2 separate regions of the Homo sapiens genome follow, and region 2 is linked to region 1. The links are contacts of gene promoters, found by promoter capture Hi-C in blood cells and fetal thymus (Javierre and others, 2016). All regions are on one chromosome and are shown on one strand. The core of a region is centred on a gene start or on the middle of the fragment in contact, and the rest is flanking DNA. Distances in the headings are between cores, read along the strand shown.

What was found. The method cuts DNA at HindIII sites, captures the fragments that hold promoters and counts their contacts. A CHiCAGO score of 5 or more calls a contact.
Region 2: a contact is called between a fragment that was not itself captured here and the fragment with the promoter of SCN2A in region 1, in 3 of 17 cell types (naive B cells, total B cells and fetal thymus). The highest score is 6.4, in naive B cells.

Annotation. Positions count from the first base shown.
Region 1 is chr2:165,237,751-165,241,881 of GRCh38, forward strand. SCN2A (sodium voltage-gated channel alpha subunit 2) reads left to right here and starts at 1,664. Exons shown (of 27, transcript NM_001040142.2): 1 at 1,664-1,890. The HindIII fragment of the contact is 782 bases long and covers 1,370-2,151 here.
Region 2 is chr2:164,729,798-164,733,928 of GRCh38, forward strand. It overlaps COBLL1 (cordon-bleu WH2 repeat protein like 1), which reads right to left. Exons shown (of 14, transcript NM_001365672.2): 4 at 117-318. Among named protein-coding and RNA genes, the nearest start is that of SNORA70F, 44 kb to the left of the region's middle. The HindIII fragment of the contact is 6,157 bases long and covers 1-4,131 here.

The DNA of each region.
Region 1 (4,131 bases), core at 414-2,913:
TAAAAATAAAGTATCAATAATATTTCATATTTGTGGCATCTTAGGCTTTAATCTTACAGGTTTAAGCTTCTTGGCCATCAGGAGTAATTTGTTGAAATTGCAAATTAATTTGGCAAAATTATCATAATTATGTGCCCTGAGAGCTTATGTATCTTATGATAGTGCAGGAAACTTGTGAGATGAAATAGTTGAGTGTATACATTAAAATAATTTGATCTACCAAGTCACTTTAATTATTTATTTGTTCAGTGTTAAAAATATATTTTCATAACCAAACTAATACATCTTAATAATGTTGTAGAAATGGAAGTAAGGTAAAATTTAAGAAACTGGGTTTGTTCTTCTGACTTGCTTATTAATACTGGATAAGTTACTGAAGAGTGGGCTTTGGTTTCCTCGTCTATTTAATAGTGTGGGAACAACCTTATGTTAAAGCAATCTATTCAGTATAACTTTAGCACACAGAAAATAAAATATTATGAATCCAAAGAAAGTGTAGCTTGCAATCATGTATTTTATTAAATGTATTTATCAGCATTTTGGCTTCTGATGGACATGTGTATATACATATTTTGTGGATAAAAAAATTACTTAACTATTTTTATATTAGATACTATCAATTATTCTGGCTGATCTGGGGACTTTTAATGGTAAATTTTATATCAAATCTGACAAAGACAGTATTTCAGACCCGTTTAAGACCTAGAACTCACCATGAGTTCTAAAATTGGTTCTCAGCACCATGGACAGCGTTACTGCAATAGGAAATTAAAGATCGATTTGGCCCCAAATTAAAATGGTGTTGTAAAAAAGTGGGAGAAAAAAAATGCCTATCCTTTTACTTCAAATTTTAAAAAAATGATCCTGGCCTTCACAACTGTTCATAAGAAGAATAATTAATTAAACAAACATATATTGAGAACATCATATGCTCAGTAAAACTTTGATTCTATAAATGGTGTCATTTACCAAATGGATTCTTTTGACAATTTAATTTTCTCTTATCTCTCTAAGAAGATGTAACTACACACTATAGTATACTACTACAATTATCAAATTTCATGTTGCATGTAACTTGTCGTCTGTATTTTTGTAGTTAGATTAGATTAACTAAAGATTTTTCAAGTTTGCCTTTAAGTCATTTAATTTTCCTGCCTTATCTTTAACCTTTCAACATTCCTCCAAACAATAGCAACACAAGTGTTATGTGTTAACTTCTCTAGTGACAAAAACTTATACTTCTCCACAAAGAGATGTGATGTTCATTATCAATAAGCTTGACATCTAAAATTGTTTTATAGGAGATACATATTACTTTTTCAGATGGTATATAAAGTTAAATAAATCTTAAGTTTTCAATGATGGGAAAAGCTTCCATTTAGTTTAAACATAATGTAAAGAAATTTGAATCCCCAAAATAGAATTATAATTCTAAAAATTCATACTATAATTCTTCTTAAATGTTTAAATTACAGTTAATTAAAGTAGTTGATTTCAAATAGAGTGGAATTATGGGCTGTACATCATTTAATTTTATGTGCTGACTGCTACATAGCCAAAGGAACGTGAATTAAGATGGTTCCACTTTTGACCAGGAGATGGAGCTGTCATGTAAGATGCTGCCTTTATTTATTTATTTTTCTAATTTAGCATGCTGTTTTCTAACAGACATTGGGTACCATCGAATGACTGTCAGAACAGAAAGCTAAGGCAAAGGAGGGAGGATGCTGTGGTCATCCTTTCTTGTTTTTTTCTTCTTTAATGAGGATAGAGCACATGTGAGATTTTACTTTCTACTCCAGTAAAAATTCTGAAGAATTGCATTGGAGACTGTTATATTCAACACATACGTGGATTCTGTGTTATGATTTACATTTTTCTTTATTTCAGGTAAGCCAGCATGATTCTATTTTTGACTTATCCACGGATTGTTATCTATGTTAAGAATGACATTTAATATAAGATGTGTGCTTTGTTAGCTTGTATTCAGATCTAAGAGATTCAAAAGCTCTAATTCTAGCTGTTGTGCAATTTAAAATCTTCCTAGGCTGAAATGAGCTCTGACTATGACATACCGTGTTTTATTATTTCTTTGGCTTTCTAGCTGTTGGTCTCTGTCTCTGGCTGTATTTGTTTACCTTTTAAAGGTAAAGCTTTCAAAGTGAAGGATGGGTTTTCCTTTCACAAGGGAAATACTGCTCCTTAATGCAGTGAACAAATTGTAGAGATATAATGAAGCAGATTAACATGGCAGTGGCTCTGCCAAAGCTCAGGGCTGAGCCTTCTGATTGCAGCCTCAGAGGCAAGCCAATATTCTGAGTCCAAAGGCCTTTTGAACGATTTCTGCTGGCTATGATGGTACAGATTGTTTATGTCTTTATTTTTACCTCTTAGAAATAATACGTAAGTCATTTCTCCCACATGAATCAAGATTTATGTAATGTGTTTAATAGACTTGGAATGAGACTATAGACCCTCCCTCCTCCCCCAGTATGGATGTGAGGAGTATGCTGAACACAAATTAATTGCCATGAAAATTGATTTTTTCTGTATTTTATTGGATTTGGGATAATAGAACCGTGGCCATTTTAAATAGTTGATATTATAGAAGGTGCTCACATTTTAAATTATTTTAGGTCATGTGACATTATCTGTGTTAAAGAGTGGAATGACTCAGGAGGTGGAAGTTGCATGCAACAGCCTTGCTTCTCTCTGCTGCTTCTCGTGATTTCCCTTAAATCCTTGCTTGATTATTATTAGAATAACAGGAATAAAGACATATAGAAATCCTATATTTAAAAACCACTGATTTTCATTTAGAGAAATTTAAAGAGATTTTACAAATATTTTAAAAATAGTTTTGTAAGATTGTTTTTAAATGCCTCACTTCTTTCTCCTGTGGAAAGAGCTGTGTGTGTGTGTGTGTGTGTGTGTGTGTGTGTGTGATGGTGGAGGTGGCAGGCGGTGGAGGTGCATCAGGATGTTTTTATCTCAGTCATTGTTTTCCTGTAAAGAGGTAGTTTTGCCATGTCAGAGGTTGTGAAAGCTATGGGGAATGATTTTATAAAATGGTTTGGACAAACCATGAAAAAAACATGTTTTTTAAATGTGTGGAATCTATAGAGTTTGTAGTTCTACATGGCTCCATATACATGGAGATTTTTAGAATTACAGATATTTAACCATTTATCCCCATTATCATTTAAAGAAAAGCAATTGTAATTGAGAGATAAGGTGGATTTCCCAGAGTCACGTACTAAATTACAATAAGGCAAGGCTAGAACAGTGATTGACAGTTCCACATCTTCCATAGCAGTAACACAATTCACCTCTAGTGTGAACATATCAGGATGGCATAGACCAGGTATGATGATATTCACTGTGCGTGTGTGTGTGTGTGTGTGTGTGCATGTGTGTGTGTGTTTGGTTATATTCTGTAAAATAGAGTTTCTTTCAGTATACTGTTGCTCAATGGCATATTATATGCAGTGCTCAATTTTCTTAGGTTTCTTGTCAAAGCATCCAAGAAAACTGAATGACAACTATGGAAACTCTGTTTCTTAGTATGCCTTTTTCATTATTAGGTGGTGTATACTCTTCTACCCTATGCTCATGAATGATGTGGATGGCCACATGGCTTTCCCTCCTACCTAATAGAAAAGATTGTACATATAGGTTAATCTATTGACAACTATAAGAATATCATCTCATGTCCAAGCCTTTCCTCCTTTGTTCACTTACTAGGCACAGGCTTTACCCTACTTCTTCAATATCTTGAGAAAAGAAAGGGATTAAAATGTGTCATGTCTACATATATTTGTGGAATACCACGTACCAACCAAGTGTCCATGGTAGAGATAAAGAAATAATTAGTCAAGGAGTTTACCTCAGGGAGGTTAACATGCAAATATACATGTGCAGATACCACTATATCTCAAAATAAGGAATGAAGAAAGATGAGAAAGTGAATGGGACAGGAATATCAGCACCTATCTTGTGCCAGGCACCATGTTACATCCTGGGATTCAGAACAAAACAATAATGTTAATTTCTGTCCATGGGGGGCTCAGAGGAAAAGATTTTAGGAGGATGTGACAGTTAAATTAGATCTTTAAGAGTGAGTTGGATATA
Region 2 (4,131 bases), core at 1,222-3,721, 510 kb before region 1:
AACATAATACTCACATTCACATCAAATTTAACCAGTAAAGTCCATTTTTATTTCACTTACAATGAGCTGCTGATAATGACTGAATAAGACATCAAAATATATAATGGAATTCTTACCTCTGGTATTATAGGTGTAGGTTTTTTCTTATCCAACATTTTTGGCTTTAAAATTACCTTCTCTACCTCCAACATTCCTATTGGTGTGTTTGGCTTAAATTTAATGTGGTTCTGTTCAGCTGACAACAGATCGATTGTGTAACTTGATGGATTTAAGTGATACTGTGCACAAAGGAATATCAACAAGTCCATCATAGGTTTACTGTAAAACAAGAGTATTTCATTACCCGTTATTGTTTTGAGGATTTTCTTAGAATGCTTGTCTTCAATAGATAAACAAGTCTACAAGATAGTTTTTGGAAAAGCAGCTTAAATATTGAACTACAGGTCAAGCTACAGGCCAAGGCAGGAGGACTGCTTGAGCCCAGGAGTTGGAGACCAGCCTGGGCAACATGGCAAGACCCTGTATCTACAAAAAATAAAAAAAAAAAACAATAGCCTGCTGTGGTGGGTGTGTGCCTGTAGTCCCACCTACTCAGGAGGTGGAGGCCAGAGAACAACACGAGCTCTGGAAGTTGAGGTTGCAATGAGCCGAGATCGCGCCACTGCACTCCAGCCTGGGCAACAGAGCAAGACCCTGTCATAATAATAATAACAATAAAAACAACAACAACAACAACAACAAAAATAATCTCCAAAAAAATTGAACTACAAGATATTTAAACAGACAAAATTGTAATAGTTAAAAAGTCCTGGGATAGTCAAGAGAGCATAGATCCTAGTGTCAGTTCAACAACTACTTTTATGTTTTTACCAAATTGTTTCCAAATTATAAATTTCAGGAGGAGGAGTCCTTTCCTTACCCAAGAGCAGTCCTTCACAACACATTATTTGTAATATAACATTGGCAGTCTTTAGCTTATGAATTGGTTACAAAGTTCTCATAAGAATGAAGCATTTGGAACCACCACCACCACTTTTTGGCTTTAGAAAACAGACTGTAAATATCTGCATAGGAAGTCCACAAAATCCTAAAAGGTGTAGTACAAATTCTTTAATCATCCAAAGGTTATGAATATTCTCTAGGCACTGGAATCACAGTACAAGTATTATAGTATATCTGTTCTCATAGATCTAACACTCTACTGGATGAACTAAACCAAGTGTCAGCAAACCACAATGTGCAGGTCAAAATGGGCCCACAGTCTGTTTTTGTAAATACAGTTGTATTAGAAAATAGTCATGCCCGTTTGTTTATATAACGTCTCAGGCTGCTTTTGTGTTAGTTACAACAGCAGAATGGAGTAGGGTGACCACACCTACTATATAGGCATAGCCCACAAAGCCTACTATTTTTATTTCCTGGCCCATGATAGAAAACGCTTATCAGCTCTTGTGCTAGAACATAAAATTGAAATAAAGTAAATGCATGAGATAATTTCAAATAATGAATGAATGTTTAATACTATTGGTAATACAGGACTTATTTCTATAGAAACTTTCATACCCAACTTGGAATTCAGGGATACTTACCAATTTTTTGCTTCCCTTTCCATAGATTCTCATTGTTGACACAGACTTATATTTTCATTCATATCACTGACAGAACAACATAGTCTCTGAGTCTTTCTTAATACTGTCATCCCTTAAGGAAAGCACACTAAAAAATCTTTGGTATCATGTGCTTTCCCCAAATGTCAGGTGATCCTAAACTGTTAGTTCACACTTAAGAATAAGGCACTAAACCGCAGTGTGTACATCGTATTTTTACAGATGGAGGCATAGGTTCATGGGATTCACTTTAGGGTAATCGGGTAGCCAGCCATCTGCATCCCACCTCGAAAGGGAAATGCACATATCAGTAAAAAGTTATTCTCCAATTTCTTGACTAGAGATATAAACCTGGTTACTGGCTTTTGGGAACTTGACAGGGAAATGGGGCTAGAAATCCCACCATTCAGTATGCTACTTTTATTTTAGTGCACCTGTTTTCATACGGCACGTCACCCCTAGTAAGCTCCCAGGCCTGCAGCCTCTGATGCAGTTCTTCCAGACAAGGAGTCTCCTGCAGAGGTGGGGAAGGATTCACTGTCGGACACTGTGTGGTCTTGAAGTCAAACAACACGTTACATAGATTTCAGATCATCCCGTGTTCAGCCCCCATCTCTACTTTCTGTGGTCGCTGCCTACTCCTAGGCCAGTCCAATCTTTATGGGATAAGGAGTATGTTTCTCAACGGTCCCTCACACATCCCTTCTCCCCCACATACAAGTAGCACCCTATTACTTGTATATATATAAAGAAAAATAAATAAATCAAAGGTTCTAAGTCCCTCAATTTAAAAAAAATTCTCAGGAATACATTTCAATTCTCAAAATACATTTCCTGTGTCTTTATTAGATGGTTGCATAATATTTAAGAGTTTTACATCCTTCTTTTGAGCCACAGGCTATGCCCATAAATGTATCTATATTGCCCATGTTTTGGCTTTAAACAGGACATTTTAAATTTCATCCAGAGAGAGACTAGCAAAATGGTCTTGTGGAAGTTGATTTTTTGGTAATATGGTACTCTACAAGAGCAATTGGATGGCACATACCAATTCTAGACTTGGAAATAGTACTTTCTTTGATAGTAAATAAAGTTAAGAAGGATTAGGTAATGTCTAGTTATATACTATTATAAATGCAGTTTAGCTGGAAGAGAAGAGAACTTTCATTGCCAACTGAAGGGGTAGCTGTCTGCTGTTGTCTATGAGTAAATGATGATACATGCAGACTGTATTTCTTTCTCTCTATATATAAATGTGTCAAGTAATAAATGTAAAAACATTGAAGCTCATTCTTCCAACATCTTTTACTTCTTAAATATACAGTTTTTTTGAATCTTTGCCAGAAATACATAAGTTAACAAGACAAATGGCCGGGTGCGGTGGCTCACGCCTGTAATCCCAGCACTTTGGGAGGCCGAGGCAGGCGGATCATGACGTCAGGAGATCAAGGCCATCCTGGCTAACGTGGTGAAACCCCATCTCTACTAAAAATACAAAAAATTAGCCAGGCATGGTGGCAGGTGTCTGTAGTCCCAGCTACTTGGGAGGCTGAGGCAGGAGAATAGCGTGAACCTGGGAAGCGGAGCTTGCAGTGAGCCGAGATCACGCCACTGCACTCCAGCCTGGGTAACAGAGAAAGACTCCATCTCAAAAAACAAAACAAAACAAAACACAAAACAAAAAATTATTAAAGTTTTGTTTGGTTTTTATCCCTATTTTTGTGCCATAATTTTCATCGTTTATGTATAAACATATAAACATTTAAAATACATTTTTGATTTTTTTAAAAAGAACAATTTGATTCCTTGTGTAGAAACATTGGTATTTCTATCTGTGATAAATTAATTTTCTAATCTAATAAATAGTGTGGGTAATTGGTTAAGAATATTAACATAATGGCCTATTCCCTCAGTCATTTTATTTATCTAGAAACTTTACACACTATATCAGATATCATGAGAAAAAAGTTGCCGACTATATCATGACCTTTGCACTCAACACTGCCTATATGTTTTCTACTAAAAATGCCTCTTTGAGAGGCAACTGAAAACCACAGAAGTTCTTTATGAGTTTATTCTCTCATTTTATAATTCTAGGTCCAATTCTTTATTCAATAATTTCAGAAGCCAAATTTGTCTTGAAAATATTCCTATTGCCAGACAAATAAATGCAGCAATCCAGAAAGTTCTGCAATAGACATAACTACATATGTGAATTTAATACTGCATATGAATTGTTTCTGGGGAAACAACTGAATTTTCAGTAAGTGGTACTGGGAAAACTATCGGATGAAAAAGAAAAGTTGTGTATCTAACCTGATTCCTTACACCAAAGTAAGCTCCATGTGGATCTTTCTATGGTTTGTGTTTTACAGTAATATGCCCAATGGAATTTTCTGCACTGATGGAAACGTTCTATATCTGCACTAACACAGTGGTTACTGGGATAGTGGACTCCCAAACCAAATTTTTTATTCAAATTAATTTAAATTCAATATAAGTAGACACATTTGGTGAATGGCTG